2 separate regions of the Homo sapiens genome follow, and region 1 is linked to region 2. The links are contacts of gene promoters, found by promoter capture Hi-C in human tissues and cell types (Jung and others, 2019). All regions are on one chromosome and are shown on one strand. The core of a region is centred on a gene start or on the middle of the fragment in contact, and the rest is flanking DNA. Distances in the headings are between cores, read along the strand shown.

What was found. The method cuts DNA at HindIII sites, captures the fragments that hold promoters and counts their contacts. A contact is called where the count stands out against the background at its distance.
Region 1: a contact is called between a fragment that was not itself captured here and the fragment with the promoter of GBP1 in region 2, in 2 of the 25 tissues and cell types used here (H1 embryonic stem cells and stomach).

Annotation. Positions count from the first base shown.
Region 1 is chr1:89,454,624-89,458,364 of GRCh38, reverse strand. No RefSeq gene overlaps it. Among named protein-coding and RNA genes, the nearest start is that of LRRC8B, 68 kb to the left of the region's middle. The HindIII fragment of the contact is 4,815 bases long and covers 1-3,741 here.
Region 2 is chr1:89,063,947-89,067,794 of GRCh38, reverse strand. It overlaps GBP1 (guanylate binding protein 1), which reads left to right and starts at 2,587. Exons shown (of 11, transcript NM_002053.3): 1 at 2,587-2,635. All of the region lies in intron 2 of LOC105378841 (a long non-coding RNA gene), which reads right to left. RefSeq lists an enhancer at 2,291-2,390. The HindIII fragment of the contact is 6,241 bases long and covers 601-3,848 here.

The DNA.
Region 1 (3,741 bases), core at 610-3,109, 390 kb before region 2:
TTTTATCCATTTTTGGATATTTGTGTTATTTCCATATCTTGACTATTGTGAATGATTATTGTGAATAATGAACTTGGGAGTGCAGCTATCTCTCCAGGGTCCTGGTTTTTCTTCTTCTGAATGTATACCTAGAGGTGATATTGCTGGATCGTGTGGTAGTAATATTTTTAATTTTTTGAGGAACCTTCATAGTGTTTTGCATAGTAGCCACACCCTTGTACATTCTAATCAACAGTGTACAAGGGTTCCAATTTCTACAATCATTATCAACACCATTATTTTTTAAAGTTTCTTTTTTTTTTTTTGATGGGGTCTTACTCTGTCACCCAGGCTGGAGTGCAGTGGCATGATCTGGGCTCACCACAGCCTTGATCTCCCCAGACTCAGGTGATCCTCCAACCTCATCCTCCTGAGCAGGTGGGACTATAGGTGCAAACCACCACACCCAGTTAATTTTTGTATTTTTAGTAGAGATAGGGTTTTGCCATGTTATGCAGGCTGGTCTTGAACTCCTGGGCTCAAGAGATCTGTCCACCTCGGCCTCTCCAGGAGCTAGGATTACAGGCATGAGCCACTGTGCCTGGCCTTTTTTTTTTAAATAGTAGCCATCCTAACAGGTGTGCAGTGATGTGTCACTGTGGTTTTGATTTGCATTTCTCTGATTATTAGTGATATTGAGTGCCTTTTCAATATATTTTCCAAATATTTTATTTCTGGGTTCTCTATTCTGTTTTATTGGGCTCTCTATTCTGTTTCATTGGTCTATATGTCTGTCTTTATGCCAGTTCCATACTGTCTTAATTACTGTAAATTTGTATTACATTTTCAAATCAGGAAGTGTGATGCCTCCAGCTTTGTTCTTCGTTCTCAGGTCACTTTGACTATTCTGGGTGTTTTGTGCTAAGCTCTTGGCTTGACTTCATGGACCATCCAAGATATGCAACCCCATAATTAACACATTTTCTAGTTTCCCTATTTAAAGCTTTAGACATCTTGGGGCTTTGCTGATCCTGGAGAGACTGATCCTCCCAGGGCTAGGCAGTTTTTAGAGATACTAAGGGATTCTCCTGCAAGTGTGCCTTTCATATGCAAACTAACCAACCTGAAGCCCACACGCCACCACTTTCTCTGTTGGCTCTCACACTCTGGGTCACTACCCATCTGCCCTACTCACCCAAAGGCCAAATACCAGAAAGTAAGAACAATTCCTCTGCTTCAGAGCCCACTGAAATTATTCCAGCTAGCCAATCCTAAACCTGCTTGCCCTGCTAGTTCTAGTTCACAGTTGCTCTGAATAGCATCCTTGACTGTAACTGGAACCACCTGGAGGTGGAGCGAGGCTTTAAAACACTCACACTCAGCCTCAACTCTAGACTTACTAAATCAGTCTCTGGTGATGGGTCAGAGCTCGAGTGTAAGGATTTTTAAGGAGAACCCCAGTTGATGATTAAGTGCAGCAAGTATTAAGAATTACTTATTTAGTCTTTTGACTTCTAAAGGAGGCCTCCTACTAGACTCTTTACTTTAGACAAGCTCTGGTCTTTGACCTCTGTCTGCTTACTTCATAAATGCCTTCAAAACTGAAGGTTGCCACCATGGCACATGTATACCTATGTAACAAACCTGCACATTCTGCACATGTATCTCAGAACTTAAAGTATAATAAAAATAAATAAAATAAAAAGCAAAACAAACAAAAATCCCTGAAAGTTCATTCCCTTTGTTGGCAAATGCTATTAGGAAAAAAACAGCTTCAATAACTCCACTTAACTCTTTGGTCTCCCACCTTCCCTTGGAATTTGGTCTTTAAGATCATTCATGACAAATTAGTCCATTTTTAATACTGCTTTTAAAAATATTAAACATTTTTAAATCCAAAATTTTACCTTTTTTTCAGCACAAATCTTTGTCTGCATAGATTATTCAGATTAGTCTACCACACTCCCCAAATCCTCAGCCTAAGTTATTGCCAAAACTCGTATCTGCTCATTCTGCCACTTGCTTCTATTCTCAAATCCATTTAGCAGTGCGGCCATAGCAGACAGTTCCAGCAGCTGCTATGTCCTCTGTTGAGAGTCTTTCTCCTTTACTTACTCAGGTTTTTGTTCAGGCTATGTAAGGCTGCCTCTTTTGCCCAAGCACAGCTTATAAATTCAGAGGAGCTAAAGTCCCTGAGGGGAACTCTCAACCAATGGAAACTGGGTTGTTAAATAAATACTCCACATTGTCCCTCAAAGAGACAATTATGAAATGCACTCTATATAATTCTTCAGAATATCCACTTTGGGATTGATCTCCAGTTGCTCACAATAGTAACCAACTCATTAATTCGCCTTTTTAGCTTTGTCCGTGTGTTACTCTCCCTTTCCCTGGCTTCCTGTCACCATTTCCCAAATAAACTATACACATCCAAGTCTTTCCTTGTTGGAGAGAGAAACCAAATAAAAACACATTATCCCCATGGGAACCTAAGACCTTACCATTTCTTTCATCATTTCAATTAACCTTTAAAAAACCTCCATCATAGTCATGTTTACATTAGAAAATGCATACAGTGTTATCAATGTATGAATTTGATTTATTTATGTAGCTGGATTTCAACTTTATTATAACAAATTTTATTGTGAATTTTATATTTCAAATATATGTTTATTATTTATTTTATAATTAATATATTACCAAAATTCATTTTATAATAAATATTTATATTAATACCATTATAACACATTTAATCAATATTTAATAAATAATACATATATAAAGTTTATATTTACAATAAATATTAATATAGTAAACTTTATATATAAAATTTATTTCAAATATTTGAAAAATAAATTTGATTTCACCATAATTTATAATTTATTATGAATTTCTATAAACTCTATATTGCCATCAATAAATTTCCATAAATTCTATACTGATATCTATATATTCTATATTGATATCACTTTCCACAGGAAAATTCATTCGTATATTACCAAATAAATTACCAAACATAGCCACATGATGGCAGTGCCTGCAAGCGCTTATCTCTTCAGTGTAGGCATGATACATCCATGATAACACTGCTGTTCCTTAATCTGTGTTTGAGGTGAACAGGCCGTATCTAGCAAATGCAAGCAGAAATATCTCTGCAAAATCTGTATTTATAACTTCATTGTCCACCCCGCTAGGACTAGCCGGAGTCATCATGACATACATCCAAATGTTAGGCTTTCTTGCTCACTCACAGGGGCCTGCAGACCTGGGCAGGTGTCCCCCTAGCCAGACCAGGTTCTTCCTCTTTACTACTGATTTTGTTCCATCACCACGTATTACTCTGTGGCTTATGTAGGAGCTGTGGGCAGCACTATGCTGTTGGGAGTTAGACAATTAATTGAGCAGACATGTCAATTCATTGCTCAGGAATCCAGGCAGAAATTCACTTGACTGATAGTCAGATAGACAGAGTAAACACATTTTTTGTTGGTATCTCTGCTCCGATGAGAATTTTTATATGTTGTTTGATCCAAATCACCTTAGAAGTAGACACTTAGACTGAGAGCCTGGAACTGATCCACTAACTTGTAAGATACCTGGGCTGGTAATAATCCCTTGCATATTGTTCCATTAACTTTACCTAATCCAGGGGTCAGCAAACAAGAGATGGGCCAAATTTATCCCACTGCCTACTTTTGTAAATAAAGTTTTATTGGAACACAGCCACACTCATTTGTTACATATTGTCTATGGTTGCTCTGG
Region 2 (3,848 bases), core at 1,338-3,837:
TCACTGTGTCTGTGTAGAAAGAAGTAGACATGGGAGACTCCATTTTGTTATGTACTAAGAAAAATTCTTCTGCCTTGAGATTCTGTGACCTTACCCCCAACCCCGTGCTCTCTGAAACATGTGCTGTGTCAAACTCAGGGTTAAATGGATTAAGGGCGGTGCAAGATGTGCTTTGTTAAACAGATGCTTGAAGGCAGCACGCTCCTTAAGAGTCATCACCACTCCCTAATCTCAAGTACCCAGGGACACAAAAACTGTGGAAGGCCTCAGGGACCTCTGCCTAGGAAAGCCAGGTATTGTCCAAGGTTTCCCCCCATGTGATAGTCTGAAATATGGCCTTGTGGGAAGGGAAAGACCTGACCGTCCCCCAGCCCGACACCCGTAAAGGGTCTGTGCTGAGGAGGATTAGTATAAGAGGAAGGCATGCCTCTTGCAGTTGAGACAAGAGGAAGGCATCTGTCTCCTGCCCGTCCCTGGGCAATGGAATGTCTCGGTATAAAACCCGATTGTATGTTCCATCTACTGAGATAGGGAAAAACCACCTTAAGGCTGGAGGTGGGACATGCGGGCAGCAATACTGCTTTGTAAAGCATTGAGATGTTTATGTGTATGCGTATCTAAAAGCACAGCACTTAATCCTTTACCTTGTCTATGATGCAAAGACCTTTGTTCACGTGTTTGTCTGCTGACCCTCTCCCCACAATTGTCTTGTGACCCTGACACATCCCCCTCTCGGAGAAACACCCACGAATGATCAATAAATACTAAGGGAACTCAGAGGCTGGCGGGATCCTCCATATGCTGAACGCTGGTTCCCCGGCTCCCCTTATTTCTTTCTCTCTACTTTGTCTCTGTGTCTTTTTCTTTCCTAAGTCTCTCGTTCCACCTTACGAGAAACACCCACAGGTGTGGAGGGGCAACCCACCCCTACACTTCCAGGACAATCTGCAGAGATTTTAAATGGTTCAAATAATTTTGACAGATGTAAGAATGTTATGCTCTAAAAAGTAAAAGACTTTAAAGTAGTTTTAATAATAAAGGAGCTACAGTGTTAAGGAAGGATGATAGAAAGAGTTTAGATAAAATTATTTTACAAAGTATGAATGAGAAAAGACACTGTATCTGCAATTTATATACATCTAATATATAATTTTAATGTGTAAGTGAGAAATGCTTGGCCAGGCCTGGTGGCTCACACTTGTAATCCCAGCACTTTGGGAGGCCAAGGTGGGTGGATCATCTGAGGTCGGGAGTTCGAGACCAGCCTGACCACCATGGAGAAACCCCATCTCTACTAAAAATACAAAATTAGCCAGGATAGTGGTACATGCCTGTAGTCCCAGCTACTTGGGAGGCTGAGGCAGGAGAATTGATTGAACCCAGGAGGCGGAGGTTGCAGTGAGCCGAGATCGTGCCACTGCACTCCAGCCTGGGCAACAAGAGTGAAACTCCATCTCAAAAAAAAAAAAAAAAAAAAAGAAAAAGAAAAAGAAAAAAAAAGAAATGCTCACACAAGGTTGGGTCTGGTGGCTCATGCCTATAATCCCAGCAATTTGGGAGGCCGAGGCAGGGGGATCATTTGAAGGAAGGAGTTCAAGACCAACCTAAGCAACAAAGTGAAACCACATCACTATAAATATATTTTTAAATGAAATGTTCACTCAGGCTTTTTACTATTTTATTTGCTTTTGCTGTAAAATAGAGATAATGCCACTTATTCTGTATGCTAGAAGTCATTACTGAATTAGACATAAAACACAAACAGCTCTTAGAAAACAATCTATAAAAATAAAATCACACTATAATAAATTTAAAAATAAAAAACCTATAAATAAAATATTTCTACAATTTTTCACTTAGTAAATAAGCAGCATAGTGAAGTGGTTCAAGAAGAGGGTATGGGATCATGAGTGCTTGGGTTCAGATTAGTTACAGTGTTATGATTTTAGACAACTAATAAAGTCTTTCTGTGCTCAGTTTCTATAAAACCATGAGGAAATATTATGAGTTTTCAGTTGTGCGATTCATGTAAAGCCATCAGTACTGAGCCTAGAACATGAGTACAACACATGGAGCCCCCTCCTGGCTGTGTGCTGGGCATTAAGTGCCAGGGGTTAGGTGTTCATGAGTGTGTTAAACATGTCCTTTCCTTATGTACTGCACCTCTCAAAGAATAGGCAGCTCCATTGAGAGTGTGTCTATTATTTTAGGAAATTGTAGCTGAAAATTAACATGATGCCTCCTCATTCTAGGTTTCTCAAATTGACTCAATCCATGAGACATGTATCATTGTATTCAAAACCTAATGGGCATTTTGTTAGACAACAAATGGTCTCTAAGATTTCCAACAACAACAAAAAAAATTTGAAGCTTCTGGTTGAGAAATCTTTAAACCCTCCCACTGGCACACTCCACTAATTCCATTTATGGTAGTGGAGTCAGTGATTTGAACGAAGTACTTTCAGTTTCATATTACTCTAAATCCATTACAAATCTGCTTAGCTTCTAAATATTTCATCAATGAGGAAATCCCAGCCCTACAACTTCGGAACAGTGAAATATTAGTCCAGGGATCCAGTGAGAGACACAGAAGTGCTAGAAGCCAGTGCTCGTGAACTAAGGAGAAAAAGAACAGGTAAGAACTTTTACTACTTCTCATCAAGCAGCTTTCTCTCTAGCTCCAAAGGATCTCAGCTCAGTGATATGGAACCTATAAGGTTGTGGCAGGGATGGGAAGGAATTTATAAAGGTCAGTTCATTTTCTTAAACATCATCAGAACCAAATTAGGCTGCAGATGAGCCTGAAGTGGGACGCAGGTCAGATGAAATCCTGGTGTTATCAGGGACAGCATGGCCTTAAGTGCCACTACAGTGCTTGTGTTGAATTAGGCACCAGTAGACAGGGGCTAAACTGAGCATTTGAAATGTACTAGGATAGTCTTTCTCTTTGTTGACATTATCTATGTTGACTAGGGATATGATTACATTTCCATCGTCAGTGATGGACTGAATCCTGCTTCTATGCAGCTAAGAAATGGAAGAGTTACAAACGGGTTCTTTTCATGGAAGGAAAGAACAGCAAATGAGAAGCAGAGTAAGCAGCCCACTGACACGGTTAAAGACAAAGAAAAAACTGAAACTCAGCCTGAAAGATGAAGATTCATGAAAACAGTATACTTTTTATTACACTTGTGAACTTTGTTTCAGAATGGATTACTTTCTTTAGAAATAGTCCAGACTCACTAATTTCCTAGTGCCCACTGATCCCTGTCCCTTAGAAGTGAAATTCAACCCCACTGCTTCACTGAAGTGCTTCCAATTTTGTCTTCTTTTAGTAGAGAGCAGGGCCAAAAGTGTTTCCTCTTTAATTCTCCTGTAATGCATCTCTACAGAAAATATCTTTGCTTACTTTAACCTCTCCATGCACTCAGACTACTTTGATCCTGCCTTCTGCAAAGTCTTCCCCTGAATGCCTTGTCAAGACACTAGCCTCATTCATCACCTCTGGTCTGACAGCTCCTCTCTCTCTCTCTCTCTCTCTCTCTCTCTCTCTCACACACACACACACACACACACACACACACACACACACACATTCCCAGCCCCTTATCCTCCTCTCCACTCCTACTATTCCTCCTCTTTCTATTTCTCTTTCTCCTACCCTACCAAATGGAAAACAGAACAAAACAGAAATCCTAAAGCTGTATCGCTGGAAATATATTTTATTTGAACAACTTCCTAGGTAGCTCTCTTTATCTGCCTCTTGATCTTTTAATCCTTATTATCTGGAGGAAACATTCAGTATTTGCAATTTTGCATTCATACCCTCAGTGACTTAGAAGCTATCT